Regions from separate parts of the Homo sapiens genome. Here region 1 is linked to region 2. Evidence: promoter capture Hi-C in human tissues and cell types (Jung and others, 2019). All regions are on one chromosome and are shown on one strand. The core of a region is centred on a gene start or on the middle of the fragment in contact, and the rest is flanking DNA. Distances in the headings are between cores, read along the strand shown.

Region 1 (5,908 bases), core at 572-3,071, 280 kb after region 2:
ATCATTATTGATCTTCAATAAATAAAAAGGAATTTAAGGAAATACTATGAATAATTGCATGCCAACAAGTTAGGTTACCTAAAAGAACAAATTTCTAGAAACATACAAACTATCAAAACTGTCTCAAAATGAAAGAGGAAGTCTGAGCAGAGAGACAAGAAGTAAAGCGATTGAATTATCTATTAACAACAACAACAAAACAAATGAAGAAACAAACAAACCAAAAACTAACCACACAGAAAAGCCCAACCCACATGGCTAAACTACTGGACTCTACTGAGCTTTTAAGAAAGAATTAACATGAGTTTTTCACAAACTCTTGTAAAAATTAGAATTGGTATATACTTCCCAACTTACTCTCTGAGACCAGAATTTCCCTGACACCGAAACTAGACAAAAACATCACAAGAAAGCTACAGACCAATTTTGAATACAGACTGAAATATCCCCATCAAAATACCAGCAAACTGATTTCAGCAGCATATAGAAAGGATTATACATCATGACCACGTGGGATTTATCACAGTATGTGAGCTTGGCTTACCATATGAAAATCAATCAATGTAACATGTCATATTAGTAGAGTAAGGGGGCAAAAACTACATGATCATCTCAATAGACATAGAAAAACATTCCACAAAACCCATCCTTTCATAAAAAAAAAAAAAAACTCTAGGGATAAAGGAGAAATTCCTCAATCTGATAAAGGCCATCCATGAAAAACACATAGCTAACAATGTATTTAAAGGTGAAAAACTGAGTATTTTCCCCCTAGGATCAGGAACAAGACAAGGATATCCGCTCTCACTGCTTCTATTCAACATGATATATTGGAAGTTCCAGCCACAGCAATTAAGCAAGAAAGAAACATAAAACATTCAGATTGGAAGGGAAGAAGTAAAATTATATAAAATCAACAAGATTGCAGGATACAGTATCAATATACAAAAAGCAATTATATTTCTATATGTAAGCAATGGGCAATCTGAACGTAAAATTTGGAAATATTATGTTTATAATAGCATCAAAAAGAATAAAATACTTAGAAATAAACTTAGGAGGAGTAAAACTTGTGCACTGAAAATTACAAAACATCATTGAAAGAAATTAAATTAGGGCCAAGTGTGGTGGCTCATGCTTGTAATCCCACCACTTTAGGAGGCTGAGGCAGGTGGATCACATGAGGCCAGGAGTTCAAGACCAGCCTGGCCAACAAAACGAAACCCCATCTCTATTAAAAACAGAAAAAATTAGCCAGTTCTGGTGGTGTGCACCTGTAACCCCAGCTACAACCTGGGAGGTTGAACCTGGGAGGTGGCAGTTGCAGTGAGCCAAGATCGTGCCACTGCACTCCAGACTAGGTGATAGAGCGAGACTCTGTCTCAAAAAAATAATAAATAAATAAATAAATAAATAAATAAATAAATAAATAAAATTAGACCCAAATCACTATAAAGACATCACATGCTCATGGATTGGAAGACTCAGTATTGGTAAAGTGGCAATAATCTTCAAACTGATATTCAAACTAAATACATCCCCTATCAAAATCTTAGGAATTTCGAAAGATTAATCCAAAAACTCGTATAGAAATGGAAGGGATCCAGAATAGCCAAATTATCTTGAAAAATAAGGATAAAATTGGAGCATTCACACTTCCTGATTTCAAAGCTTACTATACAGCTATAGTAATCAGTGCAGTGTGGTATAAGAATAGACATACAAATCAATGGAATAGAACTGAGACTCCAGAAATTACCCCTTACATTTACTGATTTTTGAAAAAGATGCCAAGACAATTCAAAAGGAATTTGTGTGTATCTGCACACGCAAAAATATTCGTTAGCAAATTATTAATCAGAGACACAATGAGATACTACCACCTCACACCAACTATGGTGGCTCTAATATAAAAAATGGAAGTAATATGTGTTGGCAAGGATGTAGGAAAACTTAAATTCTCACACATTGCTGGTGGGAATGTTGAATCCTGCAGCCACTTTAGGAAACAGTTTGGCAGTTCCTCAACTGATTAAACATAGAGTTACCTACTGCATGTCCCAGCAATTCTACTCTCATGCATACAAACAAGATAATTCAAAACTACACACAAACTTGTACATCTAAATGTTCATAGCAGTGCCAAAGTAGAAACAACCCAAATGTCCATCAACTGAAGCATGGTTAACAAACAGTGGTGTGGAATGTGGCATATACAATAGAATATTACCTTGCAATAAAATGAAATAAAGTACCCATGCAAAATGGATCTTGCAAACCTCATGCTGAATGAAAAAAAGCCAGACACAAAAGGCTACATATATTATAGTACTCCTTTTATATGAAATTTCCAGAATAGGCAAAGCTATAAAAATAGACAGTAGATTAGTAATTTCTAGGGGTTGGGAGACGAGGAGAATGGGGAATGACTGCCAATAAATATGGAGTTTCTTTTGCGGTTGATGATAATGTTCTGCATGTTAATGGTGGTGGTAGATGCGCAAATCTGTGAATACACTGAAAAACACTAAAATTCTATACTTTAAAAATTATTTTTGGTATAAGAATTATATCATCATAAAGTTTTATAAAATAATAATTGATATTAAAAACTCAAAGGATGAATTAGACTACAGGAAAGAATAAGTGAACTGGGATATAAATCTGAAGATATGACCCAGAATACAACAAAAAGATGCAGAGATGGAAAATATACAAGAAAAGTTAAGAGATATCAAGGATAGAGTGAGAACATTTAATAAGTCTAATCAGAGTTCCAAAAGGAAAGGAAAGAGAATAGGAGAGAGGCCATATCAGAAGAGATAATGGCTGAGTATTTTTCAGAATTGATTAATGATACCAATTCTCAAATTCAGGAAGTGCAACAAGTTCCAAGAATAACTTAAAAAGAAGAAAAGAAAAGAAATTAACACCTGGACATATCATACTAGTCTGCAGAACACCAAAGACAAATTGAAGCTCTTAAAAACGGTCAGGTGAAATATAAGTCAGCAATAAAAAGGAACAAATTATTGAAACACCCAGAAACTTGATTAGATTTCAAGAATATTAGGCTGAGTGAAAAGCCAAGGTACAAAATGAGGCATGAGTCTGTGCTAGTTGCCATAACAAAATACCATAGACTGAGGGGTGTAAACAATAAAAATGTATTTTCTTACAGTCTGGAGGCTAGAAATCCCAGATCAAGGCCCAGCAGGGTAGATTTCTGGTGAAAGCTCTCTTCCTGGCTTGCAGAAAATCACTGTTTCCCTGCCCTCATATGGCAGAGAGAATGAGAGAGAGGGAGGGGAGAGAGAGAGAGAGAGAGAGAGAGAGAGAGAGAGAGAGAGAGAAAAGTTCCCTGGTGTCTCTTTGTTTAACCTCATTAAAGGCTGTATTTCCAAACACAGTCACATTGAGTGTTAATAATACAGTCACATTGAGGTTAAACATAATTCAATTCATAGCATGCAGCATGATTCCAGTTATGTAATATTTTCAAAAATATAAAATTATAGAGATGGAGAGCAGATTAATAGTTGCCAGGGGTTAGTGATGGTAGGAGGTTTGGGTGTGGCTGTTAAGTGGTAGCATAAGGGAGATCTCTGTCATAATAAAATCATTCTGTATCTTGAAACTACTGAGTGATGCTTACAGAAATCTACACATGTGATACAATGAGATAGAACTATATATACACAATGTGCCAATATCAATTTCCTCATTTTGCCATTGTATTATAGTTAAGTAACATGTAACCATTGGGGAAAACTGCGGGGAAGGGTACAAAGGGCCCCTCTTTTCTATTTTTGTAGCTTTCTGTGAATCTGTAATTATTATGAAATAAAAAGTTTTTTAAAAAGCAGCCAGGAACAAAAGATAGTTTACTAATTAAAATTTTGGTCTGAGATACATGAAGAAATGGTTAGCAATTAAACCAATAAATTATCAATAAATATAAATATTATTAAACTTTCTAGAAGAAATAGAGTATATAATCTCCAAACTACTAAATGCATAAAAATAAAGTGAAAGAAAAAAGGCTGAATGACTCTAATTTTTTTTTTTTTAGAAATAGGGTCTCACTCAGTCTTCCAGGCTGGCATACAATGGTGTGATAGCTCACTGCAGCCTCAAACTCCTGGGCTCAAGCCATCCTCCCATCTCAGCCTCTCAGCTAGCCGGGACTACAGGTGCACGCCACCATACCCAGCTAAGTTTTTTATTTTTTGTAGAGATGGGGGTCTTGCTGTGTTGCCCTGGGCTCAATCATTCTTCCCACCTCAGCCTCTCAAGGTATTGGGATTACAGGCATGAGCTACCGTGCCTAGCCTTGAATGAATTTTTAAATTAAGGAAAGATGGAAGAAATAAAAACTGAAAACATAAGAAAAATAGAAACCATAAAAGTACAAGAAATAAATTCAAATATAATTAAAAGTAGAATAAGCTCAGTTTTGAAGACAAAATTTATTGTATAGATTTTTAAAAATCCATTATATGCCATCTTAAAGAGACATACCTAAAACAAGGCATGGAGAGTTGAAAATGAAAGGACAGGGAAAAAATATCAAAATAGAAAACTAGGTGTCTAACTGTATTAAAGTCAGATAAAATATTAATAGATGTTAAGGTGAAACTAAAGGATACAGATTTCCTGTCAATGTAAGGAAGAAATCGCTAAGGGAACTAACAAAAGTAGAATAAGTGACATCCAGAGTCACTGAATTCTCCATCTATTGAGAAGTTCAAATCTGACATTTCCTTGACTTCAAACATCTGACATTTCCTTCTGAATATGAATTATCATATCTACAATAAAAGTCTGGTGCACATGTGTGTATATGTCTGAGTGTGATTATGTGTATGCTAGGGTATATGTGTCACATACACATACAGACACATGCACACACACACACACACACACACACACACACACACACACACACACAAAGTCCATTATTAGGATTTCAACTTCCTCTGCTTTAAGATTTGTCTTCCAATCATTTGTCTGAGAAGATACATTAAGAAAACTCCTGAAGGGGCTGGAGTGTGGTGGCTCATACCTGTAATCCCAGTACTTCTGGAGGCTGAGGCAGGTGGATAACCTGAGGCCAGGAGTTCAAGGCCTGCCCGGCCAACATGGTGAAACTCTGTCTCTACTAAAAATACAAAAATTAGCCAGGCGTGGTGGCGCATGCCTGTAATCCCAGCTACTTGGGAGGCTGAGGCAGGAAAATTGCTTGAACCTGGGAGGAGGAGGTTGCAGTGAGCCGAGATTGTGCCATTGCACTCCAGCCTGGGCAACAAGAGCGAAATGCTGTCTCAAAAAGAAAAGAAAAGAAAACTCTCAAAGGACAATTTTTAATGTCCTATCTCATCTAACTTAGTCAACATCAGTTAGTTATCTAAGTTACTAACAGATACCCAAAGAAATATAAACATTGTAAGGCCTTCTGAACACGGCAACACCTTTTGAGGGTGGGGTGGGTGGCAACTGTTTGGCAAGTGCATGCAGTTATCCTTTTGCAATACAGATCTTTAGGTTTTTAATTTCTGGAACGAGATCTATCAAAAAACTGAGACTTTCTTGGAAGGTCTCCAGGAATGGGAGTGGATAGAGCCAGCTCTACCTGCCCCAAGATACTCCTAAGGGTGGAGCTCAGAGAACTATATTTTTAACAAGCATCTCTGGAGAATTCTGAATCACACTAAGGACTGGGAAATATGATTTTAAGGGATCTCAAGGCTTCAGCATAAAAGAAGTAAGCTCTTTTTCTATGCTTTAAAATATCAATTTCTCTAGAATATTCCTTGTTTTCTTTTATTGGAGACAAGGAAATTATAAAGACATTTGAAGATGGTATTCTCACTTTATTCATTTTTTGGGAAACTGTCCTGGGTCTATA
Region 2 (6,822 bases), core at 1,388-3,887:
AAAATTAACTTTACCCTAAATCTCAGAGTTGTATGGGTAGAAACAAATTAATTCCAGATGGATCAGAGACCAAAATGTAAAACCTAAAAATCCTGGAGGAAATCTTGGTGAACTTATTTTAGGCAAAGATTTCTCAAATATCATACAAAAAGCATGATCCATAAAAGAGCCAATTGATAAACTGTGCTTCATCAAAACTTAAAACTGATGCTATTCAAAAAATATTAACAGAAAGAAAACTGAAGGCACAATATATTTGCAAAGCATATATCTTCTTCCTCTTCTTTTTTTTTTTTTTTGCAACAGGGTCCTGCTCTGTTGCCCAGGCTGGAGTACCGTGGCATGATCACCACCCACTGCAAGCTCCACCTTCCAGGCTCAAGCAATCCTCCCACCTCAGCCTCCCAAGTAGCTGGGACCACAGGCACACACCACCACATCCGACAATTTTTTGTATTCTGGGTGGAGAAAGGGTGTCACCGCGTTGCCCAGGCTGGTCTCCAGCTCCTAGACTCAAGCAATCCACCCACCTTGGCCTACAAAAAGTGCAGGAATTACACGCTTGGGCCATGGCACCTGGCCACAAAGCATATATTTGACAAAAGACTAGTGTCCAGAATGGACGAAAGATTTGTACAGATACTTCACCAAAGAATATATACAGATGGCATATAAGCACATTACAAAATGCTAAATATTATTAGTCAGTATGGAAATGCAAATTGAAACCACAGTGAGATACACAGTGAGTTGGTAAGGATGTGGAGGAACCGGAACTCTCATGTACTCATGTTAGGAATGCAAAATGATACAGCCACTCTGAAAAGTAGTGTGGGTTTTTTTAAACATTAAATGTACATCTACCATGAGAGAGGGGGAAAAAAGCATATGTCCATATAAAGACGTGTGTACATGAATGTTCTCAGCTTTACTTGTAACAGTAAAAACCTGGAATAACCCAAATGCCCATGAACTGGTGATTGGATAAACAAACTGTGGTATATACATACAATGGAATATTATTCAGCAACAAAAATTAACTATTGATACACACAGCAATAAAGATAAATCTCAAAATAAAAGCTTAGTGAAACAACTCTGACAAAAACAAGGACATTCTGTATGATTCCATTTAAATAAATATCTAGAAAATGCAAACTAATCTCTAGTAACAGCTGACCAGTGGAGGGGGCATTGGGAGAGAGGCTTACCAACGGGCAGGAGGAAACTTTTGGGGTTTAGATGTAATAAACATATTATTTTGATTGCAGTGATAGTTCCACAGCTGTATTCATTTAACAAGCCTTATCAAATTATATCCTTTAAATATTTGCTGTTTATGTCAGTTATACCTCAATAAAGCTGTTTTGTTTTGTTTTGTTTTGTTTTGTTTTGAGACAAAGTCTCGCTTTGTCACCCAGGCTGGAGTGCAGTGGCGCAATCTCGGCTCACTGCAACCTCCGCCTCCTGGGTTCATGGGTTCACGCGATTCTCCTGACTCGGCCTCCCAAGTAGCTGGGATTAAAGGCGCACACCACCATGCCCAGCTAATTTTTGTATTTGTAGTAGAGACAGGGTTTCACCTTGTTGGCCAGGCTGGTCTCCAACTCCTGATCTCAGGTGATCCACCTGCCTCAACCTCCCAAAGTTTTAGGATTACAGGCCTAAGCTGCGCCTGGCCAAAAAGAAAGCTGTTTTTTTAAAACTATCTGCACTCCCTACTTGGGAGGGTTGGACTCAAGTTCCCACATCTCTTTCCTCTTACGGTTATATTAAGGGCTTAGTCATACATCCCTAAATTTCATATATCCCAACAGGGACTTGGGCTGGGACAGGAAGCCCTCTTCCTCCACCTCAACTACCACTTAGCCACCCACCATTTTCTCAAACCTCTTCCTTTCCCCACCGGACAGCTTAAACCAAGTCACACGTCTCATTGGTCTCAACAGAAATGAGGTCCCAACTCCTCATTTCCCAAGATATTTCCATGAACACAGCAATATCCTTTCCTACCCTGATTACCCCGCACCCTCCATTTCGGGTCCTTCTCACCCTGATCAGTGAGAATTGTTCTAGCAAGCAAACCTTAAATAGACCTCGTACCCTTTCTAGATTGCAAAGTAGATAAAAATCCAACTTTCCGTTAATTCAGGGATTAATTACTGAGCATCACTTATTTCTTGGGCAGTGGTTCTCAAAATGTGGTCCCAGGACCAACAGCTTCAGGATCACCTGAGAACCTGGGCTGCCACCGCCCCCTCCCCCACTACTAAATCAGCAACTCCGGAGTTGTGGGGCAGAAGTCAGTATTTTAACAAGGCCTCCAGGTGATTCTGATGCGCGCTACTCTTCTGGGGGTGTGAAAAACCAGAGAGGACAGGAAGAAAGTTAGAATTAAAGCATACCTACGAATCAGATAAGCGATAGGGGGAGGGGTGGTTATTTAAAAAACGATAACTAATTAAGAACTTGTATGTAGTAAGAAAACCTACCCTGCCCCAGAGAGCTTTCCCGAAAGATAATGGATTCCGACATTCACCTCAAGAACCGGCAGACAGAGCAGCAAAGGATCTGTCGCTGGCCAAGCAGGTCCCTGGCTAAGGCACTGCTAGGGACAGCTCGCGGCGGTTCGGGGGTTAATTCTCGGCAGCCCTCCGTCACCCGGTGCCCCACCCCCGCCCTGCGCCTGCGCGGTGAAGCGCCATAGAGCTGAGCACTCCTCCCAGATTCCTAGAGCGGACAGGGCGATGGCAGGTTCGCCGGGTGTGAGGCTTCACAGCGGTCCGGTGACCAAGTCGAGGTAAGGGTGATGTCGGCTCGCGGATAGCAGAGGAGTTCCGGGTGATCTTGCCTAACGAGCAGGAAACTGTGCATGGTTTCTCGAGTCCTTGGAGAGTGAAGGCCCCCGGGGTCGCTCCCGGGCACGGAGAGACGATTGGTTCACGGCCTAGTGTTCGGTTTGTTCCCAGTCAGCCCTTGCTGGCCTTGGGTTCAACCGAATGAACGCCAGAAACTCTGTGGGGTGGGGGGAGTCACCAACCGTGGTGCATCCATACGAATCAGCCTACCGTACTGGGAAAGAGCCACCTGAATTTGTGAATGTTGTAAAAGCAAAAGGAAGAAAAATGATCAGTAGTGTCATTTTTGGATAGGAAGGGCAGCGAATAACATAGTGTTAACCACTAGAATTCACTGTAAAATTCCCCTCTCTGCGTTATCTTTCCAGTTATACCTTTTTTTGGTAGCATTAACCCCTAATTTTGTTTGAACATCTCTAGACTTGGAATGGGGAATGTGTGTCTTAAGTGGGTTAATCCCTGGCTCTTGGATGATGGGGAGGAAGCCTAATACATTCTGAGAGAAAAGCAACTGGAAGTCAAATGAGATTTTTTGTTTTCTCCTTCTTTTATATCTTGAGGATTTTTCTGGTGGTCTAGTCTCAGAGATTACATCTGTAGTCAGCACAATGATTCCCTTCCAAGCCCAGTGGTGCCCAGTTGCCTCCAGGTCCCAGACCTTTATGTGGACAAGAAAAGCTTACAGAGGAAATGGTAATTCTCCACTTGCACACTGAGGTGTCCAGTTGCAGCCCATGGAGATCCAGTTCAATTATGAATCTCAGGAACACCACCTTCTGTCAGGTGAGAGGCAGGGTATTATATCTTTCTTAGTGGCTTTGGCGGGGTGGGGAGGATGAGGGGGTGTCACTCTATGCTAGTGTCTTCAAATGATCCCCCTTAACTCTGTTAGGCAGTATTACCTCTTTAGTGTACCAAGCATAGTCACATGACTTTATTTCAAAATCTGGCGATCAAATTCTCATGCAGCTCTCTCCACTTTTTTAAGACCCCAAAGTCATTCATTTTTCCCTGTATAATGACCTCATTGCTAATCTGTCAGTTTTGGTCATTTTTCTTATCTACTGTAGGGGCATAGTTAAAAGTTCTGGAGTCTGACAACCTAGATTCAAACAGTAGTTTTGTCACTTAACTGGCTCCAGTAAGTTACTCATATATTTTACGATTCTGTTTCCTCACTTTTCAAGTGCATAGTACTTCATACCTTGAAGTTATTTTGAGATTTGTATCTATGTATTACTCCAGAATAAAGAACCCCAAAATTTAGTGACCTAAAACATCAGACTTCTTAAACCACATTATTTCTTATGATTCTGTAGGTCATCAACTTGAGCTGGGTTCACCTGGGCATTTTTTTTTCTCTTGGTCTTTTCTGGGGTCATTTTGCAGTCATCTCAAGGCTGACTCTACTGGGGCCAGGGTCTAAGATGGTTTCAATCACGTTGTCTCAATGTCAAACTGTTAGTGCCGGCTATGGCTTGAGTCCTCATGTCTTCAGCAGGTGACGCTGGACTTTTTCACAGGACAGCTTGTTTCCAGTCAGAGAAGGCAAGCTCTTTTCATACCTATGTTTGTGTTTCATCTGTTAATGTGTTTCATCTGTTAATGTCTCATTGATGAAAGCAGGTCATATGACCAGTTCTAAAGTCATTATAGAAGGAAACTACACAGGGATATGGGTACTGGGAGATAGGATTCACTGGGGTACACTAATACTATAACAGGCCAGGTGCAGTGGCTCACACCTGTAATCCCAACACTTTGGGAGGCCAAGGCAGGAGGAATGCTTGAAGCCAGGAGTTGAGGACCAGCCTGGGCAACAAAGTGAGACCCCATTTCTACAAAAATTTAAAAAATTAGCCAGGCATGGTGGTGTGTGTGTGCCTGTAGTCCTAGCTATTTAGAAGGCTGAGGTGAGAGGATTGCTTGAGCCCAGGAGTTCAGAGGCAGCAGTGACTTATGATTGCACCGCTGCACTCCAGCTTGGGTGACAGAATAAAATGCGATCTCCAAAAAAACACCAAGAAAAAAAAAAACTAAACAAGATCCTTAACGTAAAACTCTGAGCACAGATTTTGCTTACAGTAAATTCTTTATAATTGGTAGCCACTATTATTTTAAGTAAGATAATTTTGATCTCAACGTTTTTCAGGTGTTCTGTAGGGTCTCATTTCCACATCATATGTTACTTCTTTTTGGTTTGTCCTCTCATTGCGCTGTTTTTCCTGTGAGTCACCTTCAGTTGTCCCTTTTCTCACTCTAGATCTTCTGCTTCTTTTTAGTCTTGGAGCATCTTTATTTTATTTTACTTAGTTTTTCTCTCCTATGTGTAGAACTTGTCCTTCCTTAATAATCTATTCCAAGACATCCAGCTCTTTCCTGAGAATCACTGCAGAATTAGACCTTCTCCTTGCAGTTTTGCATAAATTGATATACTTAGTCTTTGTGTTTATGTCTCTTAGAATATGTATAAAATAACATTTTATTATAGAGAAATACAGTTATACTAAAGTCAATTTGTAAAGAATAGGAGAACACAAAACAAAATTTAAATAACCTTCAGCTCCACCCTCTAGAAATAGTCACTGCTAACATTAATATATCCTTAAAATCATTCATCTAATTCACCAAATATTTATTATTGATAAATGTTTACTAATAAGATCATACCTTATTAATTACTAGCCATATAATATTAGTTATTAAGGGTTTGCTCTGTGCCAATAACTGTTCTAAGTGCTGGGGATATAGCAGTGAGCTGAACACACAAAGCCTTTGCTGTCAAAGTGCTTACATGCTAGTGGAGGGAAGGAGAAAATAAATGAATGCTCATTATATTATCAAATAATGATAATGGTTATGGAGAAATTAAACCGGGATATATCAGTGAGGATTCTAGCAGGAAACAGATGGCTCATTCGAGTGCAGTAATTCAAAGTTTCATGAAGAGGATGGGCATGATTACAGAAATCAGCAAGGGATGGAGAACAGCCATGGATCAGACAACACTGGGGAGCAGTTACTACCTGTAGGTCTTCAGGGACCAGGGGAAAGATTGATTACCAGGCCCTGGAAAGTATAGCTGTAGGATTTAGCCATCTGATAGGAGCTCTGGCCTTTGCTAAAAGGCTCAGCTAGTAGCCCAGCGAGGAGAGAGCCAGGATATAGGGTGACCAGTTCATCCCAGTTTGCCTGGAATTTAGCACTGAAATCTGCAATAGCCCCTTCAGTTTTAGGCAAACCATTACAGTTAGTCACTCTACTATTTTCCCACTTGTGCCCAAATCTACTTGCATACCAGAGGGCATGGAACCCCAGGTGGTGCAGTCTGTCAACATCAGTCTCCTGGTACAGAGCAGAGTGGGGCACAGAGCAAGGTGGAGAGTAGATCTGGAGGGGTAAAAGGACAATATTCATTATAATCCACCACTTTTATCCTGCAATATCCACCCCAACATAGCAGAAAAACAAAGTCCCTTAAGCTGCCATTTCATTTCAGGTTGACATAATTAAATCATATTCCCACCGGAAACCTGGAATTTAACTACCACTAGTGCCCTTCATATAAAATGGTGAAGGAGAGGGGGGAAAGGCATAATTAACATAAAACATGACAGCCACTGTTTTTGCTATTCACAAAGCCTAAATTGATAATCCTAATTATCTTCTTCCATTACCCATTTTATATCTCCCTTACTCTCTGCCAGCACCTCAGTGGCATAAATTTCTTTACGTAGTTAAGTAATATAAAGCTGCTTTCCTGGATGATCTGAGTCCTCGGTAATCCTGCTTCTTTCAGGCTGCTTCAGTGTACCATTGATTAGGCCTACTAGACATGAGAGGACTAAGACGCATCCTATTGAATCCTCTTGAGTTCCAGACATACTCTTTCTTGCCCTTCCTATGTTGCAGCAATCAATTCCCCCTTGGTAATTGAGATCAGTCATCCTGTCCAGTAAAGTGA

What was found. The method cuts DNA at HindIII sites, captures the fragments that hold promoters and counts their contacts. A contact is called where the count stands out against the background at its distance.
Region 1: a contact is called between a fragment that was not itself captured here and the fragment with the promoter of ZSCAN30 in region 2, in 2 of the 25 tissues and cell types used here (hippocampus and liver).

The regions. Positions count from the first base shown.
Region 1 is chr18:35,564,792-35,570,699 of GRCh38, forward strand. No RefSeq gene overlaps it. Among named protein-coding and RNA genes, the nearest start is that of GALNT1, 14 kb to the right of the region's middle. The HindIII fragment of the contact is 9,152 bases long and covers 1-5,908 here.
Region 2 is chr18:35,287,592-35,294,413 of GRCh38, forward strand. It overlaps ZSCAN30 (zinc finger and SCAN domain containing 30), which reads right to left and starts at 2,638. Exons shown (of 4, transcript NM_001112734.4): 1 at 2,493-2,638. It also overlaps the pseudogene ZNF271P. RefSeq lists an enhancer at 2,755-2,914. The HindIII fragment of the contact is 7,442 bases long and covers 505-6,822 here.